Linked DNA regions of Homo sapiens: all the other regions are linked to region 3. Evidence: promoter capture Hi-C in 16 types of primary human blood cells and fetal thymus (Javierre and others, 2016). All regions are on one chromosome and are shown on one strand. Each heading gives the region's core, a stretch centred on a gene start or on the middle of the fragment in contact. The rest is flanking DNA. Distances are from core to core; before and after follow the strand shown. Region 1 holds the start of ARHGAP33 (Rho GTPase activating protein 33). Region 2 has its middle 6.0 kb from the start of LSR. Region 3 holds the start of DMKN (dermokine). Region 4 has its middle 6.2 kb from the start of FAM187B. Region 5 holds the start of LOC105372379 (a long non-coding RNA gene).

Region 1 (2,700 bases), core at 180-2,679, 260 kb before region 3:
TCAGCCTGGAACACTCGCCCCACCTTTCCCTGGGTACATTCATCCTCACTCCCACCCCTCAGGTCCCAACTCACATGTGCCCTCCTCCAGGAAGTTCTCCCTGACCCTTCAGGCTGCACCTGGCATCTCCTCTGGACTCTCTCCATCCCCTGAGGTTCCCCCATCCCAGGTTCCATGCCTTGACCAGAGCTTCTCCCTTCACAGCTCTGATCACTCTGAGATGGCACTGGTGGTGACAAGTTCATCTCTCTCATTGGACTATGACCGGCCTCCCAGAAGGAGGGCCCCAGACTGAGCTCCCCAGCATAGAGCTGGGCATTGAGTTGGTGTTCAGACATGATTGTTCCTGATTCTTTTCTGGGTCCCCAGTGCCAGCCCAGTCGCGCGCAGCAGGGACTGGGTAAAATCTGATGAATAAATTAACCAGCTGCCAGACAGATTCACTGGGCTGTAGCGTCTCCCTGCTCCATGTCCCTGCAACCCCCAGTCACCCTCAGGGTCTCACCCTCAGGGTCTGTCCCCCTCCAGCCCATAAGGTTCCCCAAGGCAGGATGGGAGCTGACTCTCTCTGTGCCTGGAGCGTGGGGCCTGCACAGAGGCGGTCTCAGTGAATGTCTGCTAAGTGAGGGAATGAATGGATGAATGAGCGGGAGCAGCATGGTGGGAGAGGGAAATGGTGGGGGAGGGGGATGAGGACAAGGAGATGGAGCAGACCCGAGGATCAAGGGAGGTACAGTGCTGGCCTGTTGGGGTGGAGTAAGGAAGGAGTGGCTGGAGAGACGAGGCAAAGGCTCAGACTGATGCGGGGCGGGGGGGATTGAGAGGAACTGGGATAGGGTGAAAATGAGGGAGAAGGAGAAGAAAAGGGTCAGGCTGGGGATGGAGCGGGTGGGGGGTGGGGCTCGGGAATGAGAAAGGGGCTGTGGGGAGGAGGAGGGGGCTCCGCCGGGGAGGGCTGAGGGCTGGCAGAAGGATGCCGAGGAAGGTGCTGGGATGGGAGCTGGGGAAGGACCCAGGAGCCTCAGGAGGCCCCTGCAGGGGCCACTTGGGTGGCGCGGGTCCCTTCCTGGACTAGCCCCGCCTCCTCCCAGCCCAGGCCCTAGGTCCCTGTCACCCCATCCAGGGCGTGGAAGACGGGGATGCGCGCTTAGGGGGCGGGGTCGAGGTACGGGCTGGGACCCGGGATGGGGCCGCAGGACGGGAGGGACCACGGCTGAAGCACAGGCCGCGGGATCGGGCGGGGCCGGGGGCGGGGCGCGCGGGGCGGGGCTGCGCACGGACAGACTGACATCCGGACGGACAGGCTGACGGCCGCGTGGGACCCTTACCACCATGGTCGCGTAGCCTCCTCAGGCCCCGGCCGCGCTCGACCCCTCGCTCGCCGTTCTCGTCGCCGCTGCCGCCGCCATGGCGACACAAAGGGGAGGGCGCGAGCCGCGCGCGGGCGGCTGCAGACCCCGCCCCTAACGGCTGCCCGTGGCTCCGGCGCGCGCCCCACGGGGGCGGGGGGCAGCGGGAACGCGGCGCTGCTTCTCATTGGCTCCGCCCTTGGCCTTAGGCCGATGCCCCGCCCACCCGGAGGCTTCTCATTGGTTTCACCTTGGGCTCCGCCCCGGCTCTGTGTCCTCGGTCCCGCCCCTCGAAGTTTGACAGCGCCACGCCCATGACTGCTTTTCATTGGCTGTCATCGCCCTCCTGAGACAAGCCCCCAGGTTCTTTATGCTTTGCTTCCGACACTTCCAACACCAAGCAATGGACCCTACCTTTCGTCCACTCCCAGTGTCCATTCTTCTGACTTTTTTATTTTTATTTCTTTAAGAGACAGGGTCTCACTCTGTCGCCCAGGCTGGAGCGCAGTCCTGCAATCGTGGCTTACTGCAGCCTCAACCTCCTGGGCTCAAGCGATACCTCCCATGTAGCTGGGACTACAGGCGTGCGCTACCACGCCTGGCTAATTTTTTTTAGACATGGGGGTCTCACTATGTTACCCAGGATGGTCTTGATCTCTGGGGCTCAAGAGATACTCCCTCCTCAGCCTCCTTTCAAAGCGCTGGGATGACAGGCGTGAGCCACCACGCCAGCCAGCCCCTGATAGTCTTAATTGGATTCTCCCACGGCCTCAGAGCAGTGCCCAGTTCCTTAAGCAGCTTTTCAAAGTCCCAGTCCCAAGTCTCACCTTTTCAGTCCTGATCCCGACCCCGCTCACATAATGCCGAGGACGCTCCGCCCATGGACGTTTCTCGTTGCCTCATATACCTTGCCTAGGACGTAACCCGAGGCTTTCTGCGATTTGGCCTCCCCTGCCCACTGGACATTTTCTTGTTTCCCCTTCTACTGCTTATTACGGGCCAATCTCCAGCCTTGATTTTTTTTTTCTAGGAAAATGCTTAGGGGGAAATGCCAGATCATGCTTATGCCCCCCATAAAGCCATTCCCAATGGAGCCTGCTAATACTGAGCATGCCCAGATAACACTGTAATAACGCCCTTCACAGGAGGGTCTCTCCTTAGTCATGCCCTCAACAAATTCTCATCTCAGAGGGTCTTGGTCTGTTCATTCATTCATTCATTCATTCATTCACTCAAACTCTAATCAATTTGTACATACATCAACAACCAAACCAGGAGAAAATATACCCTGCCCACATTGGAGCTCAAAAGCTACTGGGAGAAGACAATGAACAAAATTAACATTAAACAA
Region 2 (2,700 bases), core at 151-2,650, 270 kb after region 3:
TGCACAGAATGAGTTAGAAAGTGTTTCCTTCTCTTCAATTTTTTGGAAGTTTGAAAATTATTTGTGTGAATTCTTCTTTAAATGTTTGGTTGAACTAACTCATGAAGCCATCTGGTTTAAGATTTTTCTTTGCTAGGTGGTTTAAAATTAGTGGTATTGCCACTTTCATTTCTGATTTTAGTTATTTGCGTCTTCTCTCTTTGGTGCTTCATCAGTCTCACCAAAGGTTTGCCAATTTTGTTAATCTTTTCAAAAAACCAACTTTTGGTTTTACAGATTTTTTTGTCTATTCTCTTTCTCTATTTTATGAGTTTCTGCTCTAGTCTCTATTATTTCCTTTCTTCTGCTGGCTTTGGGTTTTGTTTGCTCTACTTTTTCTAGTTCCATAAGATGTAAGTCAGGTTATTAATTTGAGATAGTTATTCTTTTTACATGGGCATTAATAGCTATTAATTTCCCTCTGAGCACTGTTTTTGGGGCATCTCATAAGTTTGGTATATTTTGTTTTCTTTCCTACTTGTCCCTAAGTATTTTCTGATTTCCTTTGTGATTTCTTCTTTGACCTGTTGGTTGTTTAAGAGAATGTTGTTTAATTTTCACATATTTGTGAATTTTCATTTTTCCTTCTATTATTGATTTCTAACTTTATCTTGTTGTGATCAAAGAAAAGAGTTCGTTTGATAGGTATTTTAAAATCTACTGAGATTTAACTTATGCCTCAACATGTCATCTATCATAGAGAATGTCTCATGTGTACTTGGATTTTTTTTTTAATTGGGTGAGTGTTCCATATGTATCTGTTAGGTCTAGTTGGTTTTTGTGTTGTTCAAGTCCACTATATTTTTACTTACTTTCTGTCTGTGTGTTCTATCCATTATTGAAAGTGGGATTTTGAACTCTCCAACTATTATGGTAGAACTGTGTATTTCTCCTTTGAGTCTATCAATTTTTGCTTTATATTTTGAGGTCTGTTATTAGGTGCAGAAATGTTTATAACTGTTACATCTTATTGAGATATTTAACTTTTTATTAATTTGTAATGTCTGTCTTGTCTCTTGTAAATTGTTTTGATTTAAAGTCTATTTTGTCTGATATTCGCATAGCCACTCAAGCTATCTTTTGGTTACTGTTTGCATGGAATATCATTTTCCATATCTTTTGCTTTGAACATATTCGTGCCTTTGGATCTAACATGAATCCTTTATAGACAGCGTATTGTTGGGTGGTTTTTAAAAATACATTCTGGAAATCTCCATCTTGATTTAAAGAAATGACTATCAGCAAAATTACTGCCATTTTGCTACTTGTTTTCTATATACCTTATGGCTTTTTGTCCCTCATTTTCTCCATTACTGTTTATGTTTAATTTTTTTTTTGTAGCGAAATGTTTTGATTCTCTTTTCATTTCCAGTTGTGTATATTTTGTAGCTTTTTATTTTGTGGTTATAGAGGAGATTATATTATATATAAAACCTAAAATTATAATACTCCAATTTACATTTATACCAGCTTAATTTCGATAGTATATATATAAACTCTGCTCTTATATAGCTCTGTCACTCCTTTTCCTTTTTCTTTCTTTTTTTTTTTTTTTGAGATGGAGCCTTGCTCTGTCACCCAGGCTGGAGTGCAATGGTGCAATCTTGGCTCACTGCAGCCTCTGCCACCTGGGTTCAAGCAATTCTGCTGCCTCTGCCGCCCCAGTAGCTGGGATTACAGGTGTCTGCCACCATGCTCGGCTAATTTTATTTTTCTATTTTTAGTAGAGATGAGATTTCGCCATGTTGGCCAGGCTGCTCTTGAACTCCTGACCTCAGGTACCTCAAGTGATCCACCTGCCTCTGCCTCCCAAAGTGCTGGGATTACAGGCATGAGCCACCATACCTGGCCTCTGTCATTCCTTTTCTGTTGTCAGTGTCACAAATCACACCTATATACATTGTTTTCCCAATAATGAAGATTAATAATTGTTTTCATCCATTTTATTTTATATCATGTAGACAATAAAAAGTGAAATTATAAACTCAAATTATGATAACAGTAGCTTTTATAATTGCTCATGTATTTACCTTTAGCAGAGATTTTAATTTTTTTCTTCATGTCTTCAAATTACTGTCTGCACTCTTTCATTTCAACCTGAAGGACTTCGTTTAGCATTTCTAGTAGGGAAGGACTAGTGGTAATGAACTCCCTCAGCTTTTGTTTATCCAGGAATATCTGAACTTCTTCCTCATTGTTGGAGGATAGATTGGGTAGCTATAGAATTCTTGGTTGATAGGTCTTTTTTTTCTTCTTCTTCTTTTGGCATGTCAAGTGTATTAACCCACTGCCTTTGGCATCCAAGGTTTCTAATGATAAATCTGCCAATAATCTTATTGAGGATTTCTTGAATGTAACAAGTTGCTTCTCTCTTGCTGCTTTCAAGATTGTTTCTTTGGCTTTGGCTTTTTACAGTTTGATTATAATGTGTCTCAGCTTGAATCTCTGGGTTTTTCATACTTGGAGTTTATTGAGTTTTTAGATTTGTTGATTCATGTCTATCATCAAATTTGGGAAGTTTTCAATCTTATTTCTTAAAATTACAATTCTTTCTTCCTCTTTTTCTCTCTCTTCTCCTTCTGGACCTCCCATAATATGTATGTTGGTCTCCTCTGTGGTGTCCCACAGATCCTTTAGGCTCTGTTCAGCTTTCTTTAATCT
Region 3 (2,857 bases), core at 306-2,805:
TCTATAGTCCCAGCTACTTGGGAGACTGAGACAGGAGGATCGCTTGAGCCCAGGAGGTCGATGCTGCAGTGAGCTACAATTGTGCCAGTGTACTCCAGCCTGGGCAAGACCCTGTCTCTAGAAAAAAAGAACCATCTCCCAGAGTTGTATAATTCTTAAACTGCTTGTGCTTAGTCCAATGCTGGGTACATACAGAACCGCTGATAAGCTGGAGCTGTAATTATTATTATTATTATTATTATTATTACCACCATCGCTATTATCATCATTAACGAGTCAGAGATGGAATAACAGGGAAGTAGGAGCTGAGGAGGACAGATGGGGATAGTGTTTACAAGGTAAGAAGTGTTGGATGTTATAAGCTGGGGTGCGGATATTGGGGTGGAGAGAAGAGAGAGACTGACTGAGAGACATTGAGAAAGGCTGATGGAAACTGGCCCCTCCTAACTGGGCGATGAACCCCAGTGATACGAAACAGTGGGAGGCCCTGTGGCCCCTGGGAATAGAGAAGCAGCCACACTTGCTGGGCAGGGGTGAGGCGGGGGGAGGCTCCCAGGTTCTGTATCCCGAGCTGGGACTGGGGAGAGGGCCGTGGCTCTCACGGATGGCTCCTGACCTTGCGCTACCCTCTTCTCGCTTGCCATTGCTGCCCTGGCCCCTGGCCTGGGGGATGGGTGGGGTGAGCTGGCCCAGTCCCGCCCCTCATAGGCGCTTATACTCACACGTGCCCCTCTAGGGCTGCGTAAACAGGATGGGTGCCTGGGTCAGCGGCTCCCTCCCTTGGCCTTCCCTCCCACTCGTTCCCTGGGGGTGGCTGGCGCGCCTGGCTGCCCTGCTCCGCGCCCAGCTTTCTCAGCCGGGAGCAGCCTGAACGCTGAGACACCCTGCTGACCACTCAAAGGGCTATGGCCACCTCCTTCCCCGACACCGAGGGTCCCCCCGGGGGCTCTCCCCAGAATCTCAGAAACTGACACGCAGCCCCGTGTTTGCCAGTCTCTCTCTGTGGGCTGGAAGGTGTGGAGGAACAAGAAGGCAGTCACCTGTAGGTGGCAATGCGGGAGGGGAGAGGGAGAGGAGAGGCTGAGGTGCTGAAACCGAGAAAGGCCAGGCCGAGGACGGGCAATGCCTGTCACTCTGGAGCCCCTGAGCCAGGCTGGCTGAGCCTGGGTGGGTCCTGTCCCCTGGGGCTTCCCTGTCCTTACTCCTTTGGTGGGGTCCTGCCAGTAACTCCTCTCTTCTAAGTCTGCCCCCACCCCACCGCCTCCAGGAGCCAACGACAACCTGTCTCCTTAGATGCCCCTGCCCCCACCCAGCTCCCCGAATGCCTGGGGTTGGGAAATGGGAGCACTTTTGCATCACCTCATCCATTTCTCCCTCCCTCCCTGATGCGGCTCACTCTCTGTTTCGACAGAGACTCTCAGACTCACAATAACAGCTGATTACCCTATTGGTGGCTGGGCCCTGAGTCACTGCGGGGAGGGACCTCAGGTTGCCCAGCCCTGTCACCTTCTCCCAACCTAGAGTATAAGGAGTAGTGACAGGGAGGTGGACTCTGAGAAGCCCAGGCAGTTGAGGACAGGAGAGAGAAGGCTGCAGACCCAGAGGGAGGGAGGACAGGGAGTCGGAAGGAGGAGGACAGAGGAGGGCACAGAGACGCAGAGCAAGGGCGGCAAGGAGGAGACCCTGGTGGGAGGAAGACACTCTGGAGAGAGAGGGGGCTGGGCAGAGATGAAGTTCCAGGGGCCCCTGGCCTGCCTCCTGCTGGCCCTCTGCCTGGGCAGTGGGGAGGCTGGCCCCCTGCAGAGCGGAGAGGAAAGCACTGGGACAAATATTGGGGAGGCCCTTGGACATGGCCTGGGAGACGCCCTGAGCGAAGGGGTGGGAAAGGCCATTGGCAAAGAGGCCGGAGGGGCAGCTGGCTCTAAAGTCAGTGAGGCCCTTGGCCAAGGGACCAGAGAAGCAGTTGGCACTGGAGTCAGGCAGGTTCCAGGCTTTGGCGTAGCAGATGCTTTGGGCAACAGGGTCGGGGAAGCAGCCCATGCTCTGGGAAACACTGGGCACGAGATTGGCAGACAGGCAGAAGATGTCATTCGACACGGAGCAGATGCTGTCCGCGGCTCCTGGCAGGGGGTGCCTGGCCACAATGGTGCTTGGGTGAGTGGCTGTGGGGCTGCATGTGGAAATGGGAGGCTGTGGGCTGCTGGGCTGAGATTCTTGGGAAACGGTTGAAAGGATGGATGGATCTCTTACTTGCAGGCTTCTGGGGCAGCTTCCTTCTATGTTCTGCCCCCCTCCTATGCCACCCTGGAGTCCCTCTGCCTGTCTCTCTCCTGGTCTCTTTATGATTTGCCCTGGCTCTTCTCTACCAGGGTCAGAGATGGTCCCACTAAGTGCAGGTATGTTGTTCTTGCAGGAAACTTCTGGAGGCCATGGCATCTTTGGCTCTCAAGGTGGCCTTGGAGGCCAGGGCCAGGGCAATCCTGGAGGTCTGGGGACTCCGTGGGTCCACGGATACCCCGGAAACTCAGCAGGCAGCTTTGGAATGAATCCTCAGGGAGCTCCCTGGGGTCAAGGAGGCAATGGAGGGCCACCAAACTTTGGGACCAACACTCAGGTAAAGTCACCCCCAGACCTGCTACCTGCCACCTCCCTCCCTCCAAGCCCACATGCTCCGCGTGCCTCCCTGGTCCCTCTGGATCCTACTCTCAGTCTCACCCTCTCTGCAGGGAGCTGTGGCCCAGCCTGGCTATGGTTCAGTGAGAGCCAGCAACCAGAATGAAGGGGTAAGAGGAAGGGGCTGGGAACAAATGAAGAAGCCACTGGGTGCAGGCTACAGAGAGCTGGGGAAAGACAAAGA
Region 4 (2,700 bases), core at 196-2,695, 290 kb after region 3:
CCCCACGATCACCCAAGAGGCTGGTGCTACTGTTAACCTTGTTTTGCAGCTGAGAACATCAAGACTCAGAAGCTTCAAGCAACTTGCCTGAGGTCACACAGTGAGCTTGGGAAGGGGCCAGTGGTTGGAAGGTGAAAGGAGACCTGAAGCGCCCACCCCAGGTCCCAGGGAGCCCCCCAATGCCTGCAACCCATAGAAGCCCCCATTGTATGGGAGCTGGAGGTGGGACAGAGAGAGTCAAGCACGGGTCCCACACTCAAGGGGTTTGTTCTTCGCAGCACTGAAGTCTCACAACCCATAGCAGAGGCTGTCAGTGCCCCAGTGCTCCAAGGCTGTCAGGGCAGCTCCTAAGGTGACCCCAGTGACTTCCCACCTCCTGGTGTCCATGCCTTGTATGATCCCCTCTCCTCCAGTGTGGACAGACCTGTGACCTTGCATCTAACCAATAGCACACAGTAAAGGTGTTGAGCTGTCACTCCCTAGCTTGCCTTATGTTATCTAAGACTCTGTCTTAGAAGATCAGAGGGAGGGAGCCTTGCTGGCTTGATGAAGTAAGCAGCCACATTGAGGAAGTCCACGTGGTAGGGAGCTGTGGGTGGCCTCCAGGAGATGCAAGTGGCCTCTAGGACCTGAGGGAGGCTCCCAGTTGACAGCAAGCAAAAGGCCAGGACCCTCAGTCACACAGCCAGAGAGAAACGAACTCTGCCAATAACCTGGATGAACTCAGAAGTAGATTCATCCCCAGTCGAGCCTCCAGATGAAAGTGCAGCCTGATCCGTGTCTGACAGCAGCCTTCTGAGACCTCAGATGGAGGGCTCAGCTAAGCTGTGCCTGGACTCCTGATCCACAGAAACTGTGAGATCATAGACGTGTGTTGTTTTAAGCCACTGAATTTCTGGCAATCTGCTTTGCAGCAACAGACAACAAATACACTCACCCATATCCCTGAAAAGACCTGGAAGTCCCCTGCAGCTTTAGCAGTCATGGGCATGATTCCAGTGGGTGCCAGGGGTTTCCTAACTCATACCAGAAGCCTGCTGGGCCACTCATGGAGCAGGCTAGAAGCTGGGCAGTTGACACCCCAGGAGCAGTCCTTAACCTCGAGGGATGGGAACGGGAGCACCCAGCTTCCTCACCCCTGTAAGGCACACTCTACACATCCTCTTGCAGGTCCCCAGGGGTAACATTCACAGGTGCTGGGGATTAGAGTGACATCTTTGGGAGGTGTTATTCAGCCTACCCCAAGCAGTTGCAGGCACAGGCAGCGTATATAAGGGCTCTGGGGCTGGGTGTCTACTTGGTGGACGGAGCTGATTAGGACAGGAAGGCAACTGTGGAGAGAACATCAAGGAGGTCACCAGGGCCGAGAGTGTGTGGGACTCTGTAGGCCAGGATAGCAGCTGTGGGCTTTATTTGAAATGAAATGGGAGCCACGTGAGGGTTTTGAGCAGTGGAGAGACATGACCTGATGTCCACTTAAAATGGCGATTCTCCTGAGGTCAGGAGTTCGAGACCAGCCTTGCCAACACTGTGAAAACCCATCTATACGAAAAATACAAAAATTAGCCAGGCGTGGTGGCGGAGCTGTAATTCCAGCACTTGGGAGGCTGAGACATGAGAATTGTTTGAACCCAGGAGGCAGAGGTTGCAGTGAGCCGAGATTGCGCCACTGTACTCCAGCCTGGCCAACAAAGATAGACTTCATCTCAAAAAAAAAAAAAAAAGTGATTCTGACAAGGTGGGGTTCCTTACAGGTAAGGGTGGGTTGCCCCCCAGGTTGCAGCAGGGAGTAGCAGCCGCTTTGCGTGTGGCCAGCTGTACAATAAGAAACTTTCCTCACCAAGCAGGAGACATGGTCAGGCCCAGCCTTGCCACCCTCCCCTGCACAACAGAGTACAGCGTAAGACAAAACACGCCCCAGATTCCATTTTTAACCATCCTATTCTTCCCTCTTCCTTTTCTTATTGTAATTTTTTAACTTCTTAGGCCTATGTTTTTGGGGAAAAAAATAATTGCTTATAAATGCAATTCCAGTACTTAGCCTTGCTATACGGCTCTTCTACTCTGCCAGAGAAAGAAAAGGAGAAAATATTCCCTTTCTTTCTAAAGCTGTCACCTTAGAACAAATTGTCTATATCACCTTAGAACAAATTGTCACCTTAGAACAAATTGTATAAAGGCCTGGTGAGTGGAGCATGGAGTGGGTTCCCCTCATCCCTTGGCTGGACATGTCGGGCAGTGCTCAACTTGTACAACTCCACATGACAACCCCGAATACAGATACTTTCTGCATCATAAAATTGTCTTGGCAGGCCAGGCACAGTGGCTCACATCTGTAATTCCAGCACTTTGAGAGGCTGAGGCAGGCAGATCACAAGGTCAGGAGTTCGAGACCAGCCTGGCCAGCATGGTGAAACCCTGCCTCTACTAAAAATACAAGAGTTGGCCAGGTGTGGTGGCATGTGCCTGTAATCCCTGCTACTGGGGAGGCTGAGGCAGGAGAATCACTTGAACCCAGGAGGTGGAGGTTGCAGTGAGCCGAGATTGCACCACTGCATTCCAGCCTGGGCAACAGAGCAAGTCTCCATTTCAAAAAAAAAAATTGTCTTGGCAAATCCTACTGCTATTGAAGGAGTCTCATTTGTTACTCTGTATTAGTCAGTATAGGATAGGCTCCACTGCAGCAATAAATACGCTCCA
Region 5 (2,855 bases), core at 268-2,767, 310 kb after region 3:
AAAGAGAATGTATTGGTTCTTAGAATGGAAAGTCTCGGATTTCAGGTATGGCTGGATCCAGGTGCCCCTGCAATACACTCAGGATTATGCCTCTCTCCCTCTCACCTCTGCTGTCCTCAATATTGACTTCATTTTCATGCAGCAAAGATGACCTCCAGCAGTTCCAGGCTTAGAGCATAGCAGATAAGTAACCATAGCAGAAAAAGAAACACCACTTTCCCAATAGTTCCAGCAAAAGTCCTGCAGCTGTCTCTCATTGGCTTTACTTGGAATGGCGTGTTCATTTCTGGATCTGGGAAATGTAGTTGGCTGTGTCCGAATCACATAGACTAAGAGCAGGGGAGGCTGGTTCCCAAAGAAAATGAGAAGGGTAAACGAATGCCCGTCAGGCTAATCTCTCTCTTGTGTGTAGAGAGAGCCCCGGAGAGCATCAACCTGTCCTGTTTTACCATGAAGAGCATTCAAAAGCTAACAGGGTGATAGGGGTTTAGTAAGTTGGGAGTGGTCAGGGAGAGGTCTTGGAAGAGACAGTGTTGAAAGCAAAGCCTTGAGAGATAAGAAGTCAGTGTTTTAGGCGGCAGGACCTGTGAGGGCAAAACACCTGAGAAAAATCAATATTTGACAAATGAGTGGCTAAATGAATGAATGAATGAGTGAATGATTAAATGAATGAGTGGGTGAATGACTATAGACAGACACTGTAGACAAAGAGCCCCATCTTCTTGCTCAGAAGGACCCACCAGCCCCTGTAGTAATGGGAGAGCTGGAGTTGGGCTGCAGACCTTGCAGGGAAAATGGAGAGGGAGAGAAGGAGGAGGGGAGAGGAGGGAAGGAGGGAAAGAGCCACTCGGACTCCGCAGGAGCCAGGAGGAAGGGCCAGATGGACCCTACCTGGGAGACTACATCCAACGTTTCTCTCCTTGAGGGTCCTGGGCTGCCTGGAAACCCTCCCCTCTCCACAGCCTCCATTCCCTGCCCCTTCCCTCCCCCGCCTTACTCTCACTTCCTCTTTTCTGTTCCTCTTGCATACCAAGCTAGCTCTCGTCTCAGGCCTTTGTGCTTGCTGTTCCCTCTGCCTGGAACACCCTTCTCTAAGAACTTCACAGCCCTCAGGTCTCAGCCAAGAGTCCCCTCCACCAAGCAGCCCTCCCTGACCACCCCAACTGAATTACCCATCCCTCTACGCCCACAGCCTCTTCCAAATCACACCACCCTGCATACCTTCCTCTCTCTGAAAATGTCATGTTTGTGAATCTGTTGTGGTCACAGTTGTCACCCTGTCAGAGGCGTTTGAACCAGAGCAACCCCATCTTGAGTAGGGGCCAGGTAAAATGAGGCTGAGACTTACTGGGCTGCATCCCCAGATGGTTAAGGCATTCTGAGTCACAGGGTGAGATAGGAGGTCAACACAAGATGCAGGTCATAAAGACCTTGCTGATAAAACAGGATGCAATAAAGAAGCCAGATAATACCCATCAAAACCAAGATGGCCACGAGAGTGACCTCTGGTCGTCCTCACTGCTACACTCCCACCAGCGCCATGACAGTTTACAAATACCATGGCGATGTCGGGAAGTTACCCTCTATGGTCTAAAAAGGGGAGAAATGAATAATCCACCCCTTGTGTAGCATATCATCAAGAAATAACCATAAAAATGGGCAACCAGCAGTCCTCGGGGCTGCTCTGTCTATGGAGTAGCCATTCTTTATTCCTTTATTTTCCTAATAAACTTGCTTTCACTTTATGGACCTGCCCTGAATTCTCTCTTGTGGGAATCCAAGAACCCTCTCTTGGGGTCTGGATCGGGACTCCTTTCCTGTAACACTATTATTACTGACTTATGAATATTCTAGGGTTGTTGCGAAGTCTGGGTGCGAGTCAGGCACAGTGTTTACCTGCTTGGCCCTGCAGTGTCCAGCCAGGTTCGTGGCCTCCTGCCTCTGTGACCCTGTTCAAGTGACCTCCCTGCTCTGGGACTGTCTGTTCCCCCATAATATGGAGACCTCTATATTGCTCTTCTATACCTCATGTCTGTCTTTTACACACACACACACACACACACGTGTGTGTGCATGGCTGTGGTGCAGGTTTAATGACCTCATGCAGATGTCTAGAGCATGGTTCTAGGCAGAAAATGGAAAAGTATTTATAATATAATTAGTTCAACCAGCTACAATATAGACAGGGGTTTCCTGGCAGGCCATGTGACTTCAGTAATGGCCTGGGTCTGGCTTCGCCTTTAACCCTCTTCCTAGCCTCCCCTCAGCTCTCAAGGGTCAGCTAGGGGCCATCGCCCTGCATGTAGGGAGGCTGGACGGCAGAAAGCATGAACCCCATGATGCTCCCTGTCCTGCCCTGCCCATGCTGTCACCAAGTGGGGCAGCTAGACTGAAAGGGCTTCCACAACTCTGGGGTGGGCACCAACAGCCAGGGGAGCTGGAGATTGAAGGGTAACATTGCAGACTGGAATAGGAAGTTCCCTGGCCTCCAAGCCAGGCCTCACTAGGACTCTCCTGCCCTCAAATCTGGAAGCTCAGTGTCTTCACCCTTTAGGTCTCTGGGGGATAGGAGACAGAGACTTAGGAGGGTCCAGGGGAAAAGAATTTCCAAGTAATAACATGGAAAATAAAACAAAGCTACTAAACCAAAGGATATTGCTATCAACCACAGTAGCTTTCACACTTTTGTTGTTAACTGTAAGAGAGTCATTTGACATCACAACCTAGAATATATACTTTGAACCAAAAATAAAATCCTGAGCCCCCCAACTAACTAAGTGGACCCCCTTCTGGGCCAAAGGGACCCCAGAGACATCTGAACAACTGAATTCTAGCCATGAAGAAATGGGAGGTGC

Evidence for each region. The method cuts DNA at HindIII sites, captures the fragments that hold promoters and counts their contacts. A CHiCAGO score of 5 or more calls a contact.
Region 1: a contact is called between the fragment with the promoter of ARHGAP33 here and the fragment with the promoter of DMKN in region 3, in 2 of 17 cell types (neutrophils and erythroblasts). The highest score is 5.1, in neutrophils.
Region 2: a contact is called between a fragment that was not itself captured here and the fragment with the promoter of DMKN in region 3, in 7 of 17 cell types (monocytes, naive B cells, total B cells and 4 more). The highest score is 11.6, in monocytes.
Region 4: a fragment that was not itself captured here is called in contact with the fragment with the promoter of DMKN in region 3 in 4 of 17 cell types (monocytes, total B cells, activated CD4 T cells and 1 more); the score reaches 6.0 in monocytes.
Region 5: a contact is called between a fragment that was not itself captured here and the fragment with the promoter of DMKN in region 3, in 3 of 17 cell types (monocytes, neutrophils and naive B cells). The highest score is 7.5, in monocytes.

What each region holds. Positions count from the first base shown.
Region 1 is chr19:35,774,293-35,776,992 of GRCh38, reverse strand. ARHGAP33 (Rho GTPase activating protein 33) reads right to left here and starts at 1,429. Exons shown (of 21, transcript NM_001366178.1): 1 at 1,329-1,429. The coding sequence starts at 1,334. RefSeq lists a silencer at 1,168-1,647 and an enhancer at 1,878-1,937. The HindIII fragment of the contact is 37,765 bases long and covers 1-2,700 here.
Region 2 is chr19:35,241,644-35,244,343 of GRCh38, reverse strand. No RefSeq gene overlaps it. Among named protein-coding and RNA genes, the nearest start is that of LSR, 6.0 kb to the left of the region's middle. The HindIII fragment of the contact is 3,634 bases long and covers 1-2,700 here.
Region 3 is chr19:35,512,347-35,515,203 of GRCh38, reverse strand. It overlaps DMKN (dermokine), which reads left to right and starts at 1,555. Exons shown (of 16, transcript NM_033317.5): 1 at 1,555-2,154; 2 at 2,414-2,614; 3 at 2,727-2,783. The coding sequence starts at 1,729. The HindIII fragment of the contact is 13,607 bases long and covers 1-2,857 here.
Region 4 is chr19:35,221,154-35,223,853 of GRCh38, reverse strand. No RefSeq gene overlaps it. Among named protein-coding and RNA genes, the nearest start is that of FAM187B, 6.2 kb to the left of the region's middle. The HindIII fragment of the contact is 2,741 bases long and covers 75-2,700 here.
Region 5 is chr19:35,203,643-35,206,497 of GRCh38, reverse strand. It overlaps LOC105372379 (a long non-coding RNA gene), which reads right to left and starts at 1,377. Exons shown (of 3, transcript XR_935938.2): 1 at 1,222-1,377; 2 at 106-345. RefSeq lists enhancers at 718-887, 1,863-2,380, 2,381-2,855. The HindIII fragment of the contact is 3,198 bases long and covers 1-2,855 here.